3 separate regions of the Homo sapiens genome follow, and all the other regions are linked to region 1. Evidence: promoter capture Hi-C in 16 types of primary human blood cells and fetal thymus (Javierre and others, 2016). All regions are on one chromosome and are shown on one strand. Each heading gives the region's core, a stretch centred on a gene start or on the middle of the fragment in contact. The rest is flanking DNA. Distances are from core to core; before and after follow the strand shown.

What was found. Contacts are between HindIII fragments. The CHiCAGO score rates a contact against its expected background, and 5 or more counts as called.
Region 2: a contact is called between a fragment that was not itself captured here and the fragment with the promoter of TJP3 in region 1, in 1 of 17 cell types (endothelial precursors). The highest score is 5.4, in endothelial precursors.
Region 3: a contact is called between a fragment that was not itself captured here and the fragment with the promoter of TJP3 in region 1, in 4 of 17 cell types (total B cells, M0 macrophages, naive B cells and 1 more). The highest score is 8.6, in total B cells.

The regions. Positions count from the first base shown.
Region 1 is chr19:3,706,893-3,710,160 of GRCh38, reverse strand. It overlaps TJP3 (tight junction protein 3), which reads right to left and starts at 1,777. Exons shown (of 21, transcript NM_001267560.2): 1 at 1,600-1,777. RefSeq lists enhancers at 1-171, 1,007-1,668, 1,669-2,332. The HindIII fragment of the contact is 2,818 bases long and covers 1-2,200 here.
Region 2 is chr19:3,301,645-3,304,912 of GRCh38, reverse strand. LOC105372244 (a long non-coding RNA gene) reads left to right here. Exons shown (of 3, transcript NR_187753.1): 2 at 1,878-2,117. Among named protein-coding and RNA genes, the nearest start is that of NFIC, 63 kb to the left of the region's middle. The HindIII fragment of the contact is 2,833 bases long and covers 171-3,003 here.
Region 3 is chr19:3,322,823-3,326,090 of GRCh38, reverse strand. No RefSeq gene overlaps it. Among named protein-coding and RNA genes, the nearest start is that of NFIC, 42 kb to the left of the region's middle. The HindIII fragment of the contact is 5,453 bases long and covers 1-3,268 here.

The DNA.
Region 1 (3,268 bases), core at 528-3,027:
TTTTTTTTTTTTGAGACAGAGTCTCACTCTGTTGTCCAGGCTGGAGTGCAGTGGCACAATCTCGGCTCACTGCAACCTCCACCTCCTGGGTTCAAGCAATTCTCCTGCCTCAGCCTCCGGAGTAGCTGGGATTACAAGTGCTTGCCACCATATTCGGCTCATTTTTTGTATTTTTAGTAGAGACAGGGTTCCACCATGTTGGCCAGGCTGGTCTCGAACTCCTGACCTTGTGATCCACTCGCCTCGACCTCCCAAAGTGCTGGGATTACAGGCGTGAGCCACCGCGCCCGGCCCTCAATATCCCCATTTTACAGAGCAGGAAACAGAGGCCCGGAGAGAAGGGAGGTGTGGAAGCCAGATCTAACTGAGTCCACGGGTTTGCTCTCAAAACCCAGGCAAGGTGGGATCCATGTCGCCCACCCCCACGGACTCCCGAATCTCAAGCAAGCCTGCTCCCTGGGAGCTCTGCAGCCACACAGCCACAAGGTGACCCCAAATGCCGGGCCGCTCTGTCCCCCACTATGCGATCATCCATGCCTCCTCGGCCCCGGGGGACCCTCTTGGTTCTGGAGAGAGACTTGAGATGCAATCGGACACTTGGCTCACGAGGAAGCTCCCTTGGTCTTCCCATTTGGGAGCAAATGACCCAGAAAAACACTTTTGCTGCCGACCCCTCCCCTCTCTGGCTCTGAGCGCTCCTTCCTCCTTCCCCTCTGCCCCATCCCACAGAGATTTTGCTCGGAGGAGTAAAGATTAGAAAAAGAAGTCTGGGCGCAGTGGCTTGCGCCTGTAATCCCAGCACTTTGGGAGGCCGAGGGGGTTGGATCACCTGAGGTCAGGAGTTCGAGACCAGCCTGGCCAACATGGTGAAACCCCATCTCTACTAAAAATACAAAAATTAGCTGGGCATAGTGGTGGGCGCTTGTAATCCCAGCTACTCGGGAGGCAGAGGTGGAGGCAGAGGTTGCAGTGAGCCAAGATCGCACCACTGCACTCCAGCCTGGGCAACAAGAGCAAAACTCCGTCTCAAAAAAAAAATTAGCAAAAGAAAGGCCACCCCAATCCCTCCCTGCAAAGCTCCTGGAGGTTCCAGCGGTGAGAACAGGGTGAGGGGTTGGGGGGCGGGAGACGCAGTTGTTTCAAAACTTGGGAGCCTTTTAAGAAGTTCCAGGAGGCTCAGAGATGAGTGAGGTCGCAGCCTTTCCCACCTGTCACCTCCTAGCCTCGGGCTGCAGGAGGTAAACCCAGGCTCCGTCTGGACTGATATCCCCTCCCCTCCTCAGTTAGGGGGATCAGAGACCAACCTGTGCCCCTTTGCCGCCTCCCCGGTCCCTGCGCCACCTAGGTAACAATGACCCTTTTAAGTTTCCAGCTCAGCGTCCTGGGCAGGCCGCCAGGTGCAGTAACTGCCGGTCAGATAATCCCTACGAAACTATGTCAGATGCCCACGCAGGAGTGTCAGTTTCCTGCTTTCCGAGGAGCCGGGGAGACAGCTCGTGGTGGGGGAGGTTGGGGGGGAGTCTAAGGACCCTCAGCTGGGGAAGGCCAGCTCAGACAATGCACACTGGGTGGAAAAGCACAGTGGGGCGGGGGACTTACCTGTCTAGGAGGCTGGGTGGCCTCTGGGCAGGCAGCAGGTGCCAGGGCCCGGGTGCCTGCCTGGCACGGGTGGTGGGGAGGGAACCCGAGGCTTGTAGCTCTGGCCTCCCCACCTGTTTGACCAACTTTTCCTCTCTTGTGGTGGCAACAGGGAGGCAGGTCCCCTGCCAGTGGAACTGACGACCACAGACACAGGGAGACGGACCAGGGTGAGGGGCGGGCCAGCAGGAGGACTGGGTGTGTGGCTCTGTCGCAAGGTGCCCTCACGTGGGAGCAACTGGCCTTAACCCCTGCTTGCCCAGAGGTGAGCTTGCTCCTGCCTGTGCCCTCACCGCCGAGGCCCTGGTATCAAGCGTCCGCACATGGTAGGTGCTTAGGAAACCCTCGTTGGCTACATTCAGACATGAATGGACCGCACTCCCGGAGTCCCCCTCCCTCCTGCTTCTTGCATCTGGAGCTGCCCAGTCTCTGTGCTTGCTGAGCCTCCTGCCAGGCACGCCGGCCCATCAGGCTGTGGCTTGGCGCACTCCCTTCCCCACGCAGATCTGTGCGCAGTCTGCCTCTCTGCTACGAAGTGACTGGGTTCCTACGTACAGAAGCTTCTGCCACTTCCCCGCTGTGTGGCTTTGGGCAAATTACAGGGGCTTCTTGCTGTCCTCATCTAAAAAACAAGAAAGGGTCAGGTGTGGTGGCTCACACCTGTAATTCCAGCACTTTGGGAGGCCGAGGTGGGAGGATCACTTGAGCCTGGGAATTTGAGACCAGCCTGGGTAACACGGTGAAACCCATCTCTAGAAAAATTTTTATATATCTTTTGTTTGTTGTTTGTTTTGAGATGGAGTCTCCCTCTGTCACCCAGGCTGGAGTGCAGTGGCGCGATCTCGGCTCACTGCAACCTCCGCCTCCTGGGTTCAAGTGATTCTTCTGCCTCAGCCTCCCAAGTAGCTGGGATTACAGGCGTGCACCACCACGCCCAGCTAATTTTTTTTTTTTTTTTCAGTAGAGACGGGGTTTTCCTATGTTGGCCAGGCTGGTCTCAAACTCCTGACCTCAAGTGATCTGCCCGCCTCGGCCTCCCAAAGTGTTGGGATTACAGGCGTGAGCCACCGAGCCTGGCCTAGAAAAGTTTTTTTGTTGTTGCTGCTGGCTGTTGTTGGTTTTGTTTTGTTTTTTGTTTTTATTTTATTTTTTTTTTATTTTTTTGAGACAGAGTCTTGCTATGTTGCCCAGGCTGGAGTGCAATGGCTTGATCTCGGCCCACTGCAACCTTTGCCTCCCGGTTTCAAGTGATTCTCCTGCCTCAGCCTCCCGAGTAGCTGGGATTGCATTACAGGCACCAGCCATCATGCCCAGCTAATTTTTGTATTTTTGTAGAGACGGAGTTTCACCATATTGGCCAAGCTGGTCTTGAACTCCTGGCCTCAGGTGATCCGCCTGCCTTGGCCTCTCAAAGTGCTGAGATTACAGGCGTGAGCCACCACGCCCAGCCCAGAAAACTTTTTTAAAAATTAGCCAGATGTGGTGGTACACACCTGTAGTCCCAGAAACTCAGGAGGCTGAGGTGGGAGGATCAATTGACCCTGGGAGGTTGAGGCTGCAGAGAGCTATGACTGTGCCACTGCACTCCAACCTGGGTGACAGAGCAAGATCCTATCTCAATAAAATAAAA
Region 2 (3,268 bases), core at 338-2,837, 410 kb after region 1:
CATTTTTAGTAGAGTTGGAGGGGGGGGTTGCCATTTTGTCCAGGCTGGTCTCGAACTCCTGATCTCAAGTGATCCGCCCGCTTTGGCCTCCCAAAGTGCTGGGATTACAGGCGTGAGCCACCGCACCCAGCCGGAAAGTGAATTTTTAAGGGCTGATTTATTTTAAAGCTTCTGCAGTGCTTTCTCCGGGCCAGGAAGGACTTTATACATATTAACGCTTTGTGAGCTGGATTGGCCTCGTTTTCCAGAGAGAGAGAGAAAAACTGGTCCCCAGAGGATTCAGCTGCTGGCTCAAGGACACACAGCCATTCAATGTTATAAACCGGTTTCAAACCTGGGACAGTCTGGTTCTAAACTCAACCATTGTGTTTTTAGTGCATTTATTAATGGTAAGCAGGTATCATGTGCTAGGCAACAGGGAACAGAAAAACAAAATTCAGCCAGGTGTAAGGGCTCATGCCTGTAATCCCAGCACTTTGGGAGGCCAAGGCAGGAGGATCGCTTGAGCCCAGGAGTTTGAGACCAGCCTGGGCAACATAACTAGTCCCCGTCTCTACAAAAAATACTGAAAAAAATTAGCCAGGTGTGATGGTATGCATCTGTAGTCCCAGGTACTTGGGAGGCTGAAGCAGGAAGATTGCTTGAGCCCCGGAGTTGGAGACTTCAGTGAGCTATGATTGTGCCACTGCATTCCAGCCTGAGTGACAGAGGGAGACCCTGTCTCAACATAAAAACAGGCTGGGCGTGGCGGCTCAAGCCTGTAATTCCAGCATTTGGGAGGCTGAGGCGGGTGGATCAGCTGAGGTCAGGGGTTCGAGACCAATCTGGCCAACATGGGGAAACTCCATCTCTACTAAAAATACACACACACACACACACACACACACACACACACACATACACACACAAAAATTAGCTGGGCATGGTGACCCATGCCTGTATTTTCAGCTACTCGGGAGGCTTAGGCAGCAGAATTGCTTGAACCCAACAGGTGGAGGTGGCAGTGAACTGATACCGCACCACTGCACTCCAGCCTGGGTGACAGAGTGAGACTCTCTTTCAAAATAAGTAAATAATTAAAAAAAAAAAACCCCATAACATTAAAACAAAGCCAAACACACTTACTGTGCACTCATACCATCCTGTCATGAAACCCGCCAGGTTATGTTGGGTAGACAGACATCAAACAAGCCAGCGCATACATAAGCAGGGGGTTATAACTGTGATCCCTGCAGTGAATGAGAAGGGAGGGGAACCGAGGCAGGAGTTAACGGGTCGCAGTTTCAAATCCTGGCTCCACCACATACCAACTGTGTGGCCTTGGGTTTTCCTCTCCACAAACCTGCCCCTCCGTTTTCTCATCGGCAAAGTGAGAATTATAATAGAAACCTACGTTGTTGGTTGGTTGTGGTGAGGACAAAAAGAGTTGATCACAAGCTGCACATAGCAGGTGCTCAATAGACGTAAGGCTTTACTGTGTGGCTGTAGCATGCTCTGGGGAAAAGGAAGCTACCAGAGTTGTGAAGAGTAAATGTTTGCAGTGGGCACAGTGGCTCACGCCTGTAATCCCAGCACTTTGGGAGGCCCAGCGGGGAGGCTTGCTTGAGCCCAGGAGTTCGAGACCAGCCTGGGCAATAGAGTGAGACCCCGCCACTCCAAAAAGTAAAATAATAAACTGGGCATGGTGACGCACACATTTGTAGACCCAGCTACTCAGAGGGATCTCTTGAGCCCAGGATTTCAAGACTGGACTGAGCTAGGATGGTGCCACTGCACTTCAGCCTGGGCAACAGAGCGAGACCCTGTCTCAAAACAAACAAACAAAAAGTCAGTGCAGTCTCTCTCTCTCTGTCTCTCTCTTTTGGATCACACTCCAGGAAAAACCAGCCACCATGTTGTAAGGATGCTCAAGTAGCACTATGGAGATTCACACGTGGCAAAGAGCTGAGGCCTCCCACCAACAGCCACATGAGGGAGCCAGAGTAGGAGTGGCTCCTCCAGCCCCAGTCGAACCTTCAGATGTGACAGACTTGGCTGCTGACAGTTTGCAATCTCATGAGACCCTGAGCCAGAACCACCCAGCTAAATCAGTCCTGGACTCCTGATCAACAGAAATGGTGTAGGTCAGATAATAATGTATGTTTTAAGCTGACAGACTGGGGGATGGGTAAATTGTTATGCAGCAACACCTAACTAATGCACCCTGCATGTCACTTAGCCTATGCCTCAGATGAGCACTTATAGCATAGCTAGTGTTCCTCTGTCCTAAGCACATCCTTGCTCATTCTTAAGGAGACACTCAGTGGCGGAATTGGTGTATTTTATTTTTATTTTTTAATATTTATTTATTTATTTGAGATGGAGTCTTGCTCTGTTGTCCAGGCTGGAGTGCAATGGCACAATCTTGGCTCAATGCAAACTCCACCTCACAGGTGCAAGAGATTCTCCTGCCTCAGCCTCCCAAGTAGCTGGGATTACAGGTGCCCACCACCATGCCTGGCTTACTTATTTATTTATTTTTTGAGATGGAGTCTTGCTGTGTCACCCAGGCTGAAGTGCAGTGGCATGATCTCAGCTCACTGCAAGCTCCGCCTCCCAGGTTCACGCCATTCTCCTGCCTCAGCCTCCCGAGTAGCTGGGACTACAGTCACCTGCCACCACGCCCGGCCAATTTTTGTATTTTTGGTAGAGACAGGGTTTCACCGTGTTAGCCAGGATGGTCGCGATCTCCTGACCTCATGATCCACCCGTGTCAGCCTCCCAAAGTGCTGGGATTACAGGTGTGAGCCACCGTGCCCAGCTAATTTTTATATTTTTAATAGAGATGGGGTTTCACCATGTTTGGCCAGACTGGTCTCGAACCTCCTGACCTCAAGTGATCTGCCTGCCTTGGCCTCCCAAAGTGCTGGGATTACAGGCGTGAGCCACTGTGCCCAGAATTGGTGTATTTTTAAGGGTGCACATTCTAAATGTTTAACAACATTGGGTTAAATTTTAAAAGCTTAAATTGGCCTATTTCAAACAATAACCTGAATTCTAATCTAATACATTTGATTTTGGGCCACTACACAGCAGCTAAGAGAATGCCAGAGAGCCAGGGTTCAAGTACTGCTGTGCAGCCTCAGGCAGGTCCCTTAACCTTTCTGGGCTTTAATTAACTTGTAAAGTGGGGATACTATTAACAGAACATACCTCAGGGAGTTGGGGCGGGTTAAATGAGTTGAGTCATATAAAATGCTTAAACCAGGCTGAGTGTGGTGGCTCATGC
Region 3 (3,268 bases), core at 402-2,901, 380 kb after region 1:
TTATTTATCTATTTTTTATTATTTATTTTTGAGACAGGGTCTCTCTCTGTTGCCCAACACTGGAGTGTAATAGCGTGATCTCGACTTACTGTAACCTCCGCCTCCCGGGTTTAAGTGATTCTCCTGCGTCAGCCTCCTGAGCAGCTGGGACTACAGTCATGAGCCACTATACCTGGCTAATCTCTGTATTTTTTGTGGAGACAGGGTTTCACCATGTTTCCCAGGCTGGTCTCAAACTCCTGAGCTCAAGGAATCCTCCCAACTCGGCCACCCAAAGTCCTGGGATTACAGGTGTGAGGCACTGTGCCCAGCCATTTTCTCACAGATTTAAAGTCCATTTTTATTACTTTTAGGTATTTTCTGTGGTGATGTGTTCATATCCTTTGCATATTTTTTCAGTTGATCTTTTCTTATTGATTTGTAGGAACTCTTTACATATTTGTTGCCCAGTAAAATTCTTTTGCAAGTACATTGCAAATATTTCTATAATGTTTGCTGTTGTTGAGGATATATATATAATGTGTGTGTGTGTACACATAATTGGATTAGAAACCAAAGTATAACATTAATCTGTACAAATCCATACTGATAGAGATTTTTTTTTTTTAGATGGGAGTCTCACTCTTGTCACCCAGGCTAGAGTGCAGCAGCACGATCTCGGCTCACTACAACTTTCACCTCCCAGGTTCAAGTGATTCTCCTGCTTCAGCCCCCCAAGTAGATGGGATTACACTTGCCTGCCACCACACCCAGCTAATTTTTGTATTTTTAAGCTAATTTTTGTATTTTTAGTAGAGATGGGGTTTCACCATGTTGGTCAGGCTGCTCTCAAACTCCTGACCTCAGGTGATCCACCTGCCTCGGCCTCCCAAACTGCTGGGACTACAGGTGTGAGCTACTGCGCCTGGTCCTTCAGTGCCAATTATGAGCCATGCTCTCTGATGTGGGGTGCTAGAGGCCCTGAGAAGGCTAGGACAGAAGTATCTCCCTCCCTGCAGTTGAGTGAGGAACAGAGACGCCTGCCAAGTCACATACAGCATGACTGCAGTGTGTGTGTGTGTGTGTGTGTGTGTGTGTGTGTGTGTGTGTGTGTGTGTGTCTGTTACATTCACAAGAATGGGGCTGGGTCAGACACTACAGCAGGAGGACCTCCTTTAGTTGGGGGAGGGGTGTTCTGGATGCCATTTGAGTTGAGGCCAGATGGAGGAGGCACAGCCAGTTTGTCTAAGGGGAGGTGGAAGGGCATCTTGAGCAGAAGGCACAGCCTGTGCAAAGGCCCTGGGGCAGGACCACGCCTGGCATGTTGGAGGAACAGCAAGGAGGCCCGTGTGGCTGCAGCAGAGAGAGTTAGTGGGAAGAGAGGGAAGAAGGGAGGGCAGGGAGAGGATGGGGCAGGTCATGTGGACCATGGGGAGGACTTGGGCTTTGACCCTGAGGGAGGTAGGAGCCATGGAGGGTTGTAGGTAGAGGAGGGACAGGACCTGATCCAGGTGCTCACAGGCGCCCTCTGGTGGCTGCTGTGGGGAGGACAGACTGTGAGGGGTGAGAGCAGAGGGAACTGAACTGGTCCGGGCACACAGTGACGGTATTAAGTGAATTTATCTCATTCCTAGGGGCCTCAGTGACTCTCTCCCTAAAATGGGGATGAACATCTTGCTGGCATTGATTGGCTTATTTTGAGAATTTGAGGACCAGATTCAACCCTGTGCCCAGTACATAATAAAGGCTCAGTAAATACCAGTTTACCCACAATTGTTCATTTAATCCTCCCAACAGGGGCCCAGCGAGATGGCTCATGCCTGTAATTCCGCCCTTTGGGAGGCCGAGGCGGGAGGATCACTTGAGGTCAGGAGTTCGAGACCAGCCTGGGCAACATACTGAGACCTCCCATCTCTACTAAAAAATTAGCCAAGCATGGTGGCATACACTTGTAGTCTCAGCTACTTGGGAGGCTGAGGTGGGAGGATCGCTTGAACCCAGGGAATTTGAGGCTGCAGTGAACTGTGATCGTGCCACCGCACTCCAGCCTGGATGACAGAGTCACATCCTGTCTCTAAAAAAGAAAAAAAATTCTCCTAACAGCCTTATTTTACAAATGAGGAAAACAAGCCACAGAGGGGGAAAGTGACTTCCCCAAGGACACACAGCTAATGTGGCAAAGTGAGGTTTTGCTCTCAAGGCCTCCAGGCAAATAGGATTATAGATAAGGATGGTTAGATACTTCTGAGGGGATTTGACCTAGTCCAGGAGGGCTTCCTGGAGGTGGTGACATTGGACCTGAGAACTACAAGATGAGCTGGAGCCATCTAGCCAAACTGAGAGAGAAAGGACGTCCCAGCAGGGGCCACAGGGGTGCAGGGGTCCAAGTGGGTTCATCCCCGGAGCTCAAGGTCATCCCTTTCCCTGCCTAAGCCCTTCCCAGCTTTGCCATCACTGCCAACTTCTGGCTTTGTGGGCTGCACCCCCTCTCCCAGGGACCACCCCCTACTGCTCAGATTGGGTGGCTGGTGAAGACCCCCCACCCCCCCGCCACCTCCAGCTGGTAACAATCCCCAGAAAGGGATCATTAAGTGCCCGGCTGAAGCCGCCGATCACCAGTGCACAGGCACTATTTTAATTTTCCACTGATTTGTCTGCGGTAGGCCCCCCAGAGCTGAGCCATGTGTGTGTGTGTGGTGGGGTGTGGGGCGGGGGGCGGGGATTTCAAGTCCCAAAGCCATTTCTGGGGAAGAGGGGTAGAGGAAAGGACTTGGGTGGGGAGGCCTCACAGAGAGGCAGTTACAGGGGCAACTGGCACAGTTCCTGCTTCCTCCCCAAATCTCCTCTTCCTGGCCCTGATGTGGGGGCTTCCCAGGGCTGTGCCTTTGCCTTCACACTCAGGGCAGCCACTTCTGTCTTCAGGCTCCACCTACCCATTGATCCACCCACACATGCAGCCAACCAACCATCCATCCATCTATCAACCACTCCCTTCAGCCCTTTATCCATCTATCTATCCACCTTCCCATCCATTCACCCATCCACCCATCCATCCCTCTATCCATCCATCCATCCATCTGTCCACCACTCCCTTCATCCCTTTGTCCATCTATCCATCCACCTTCCCATCCATTCACCCATCCTTCCCTCTATTCATCCATCCATCCATCCATCCATCTATCCACCACTCCCTTCATCCCTTTATCCATCTATCCATCCACCTTCCCATCCATTCACCCATCCACCCATCCATCCCTCTACTCATCCATCCATCCACCCATCCATCCAT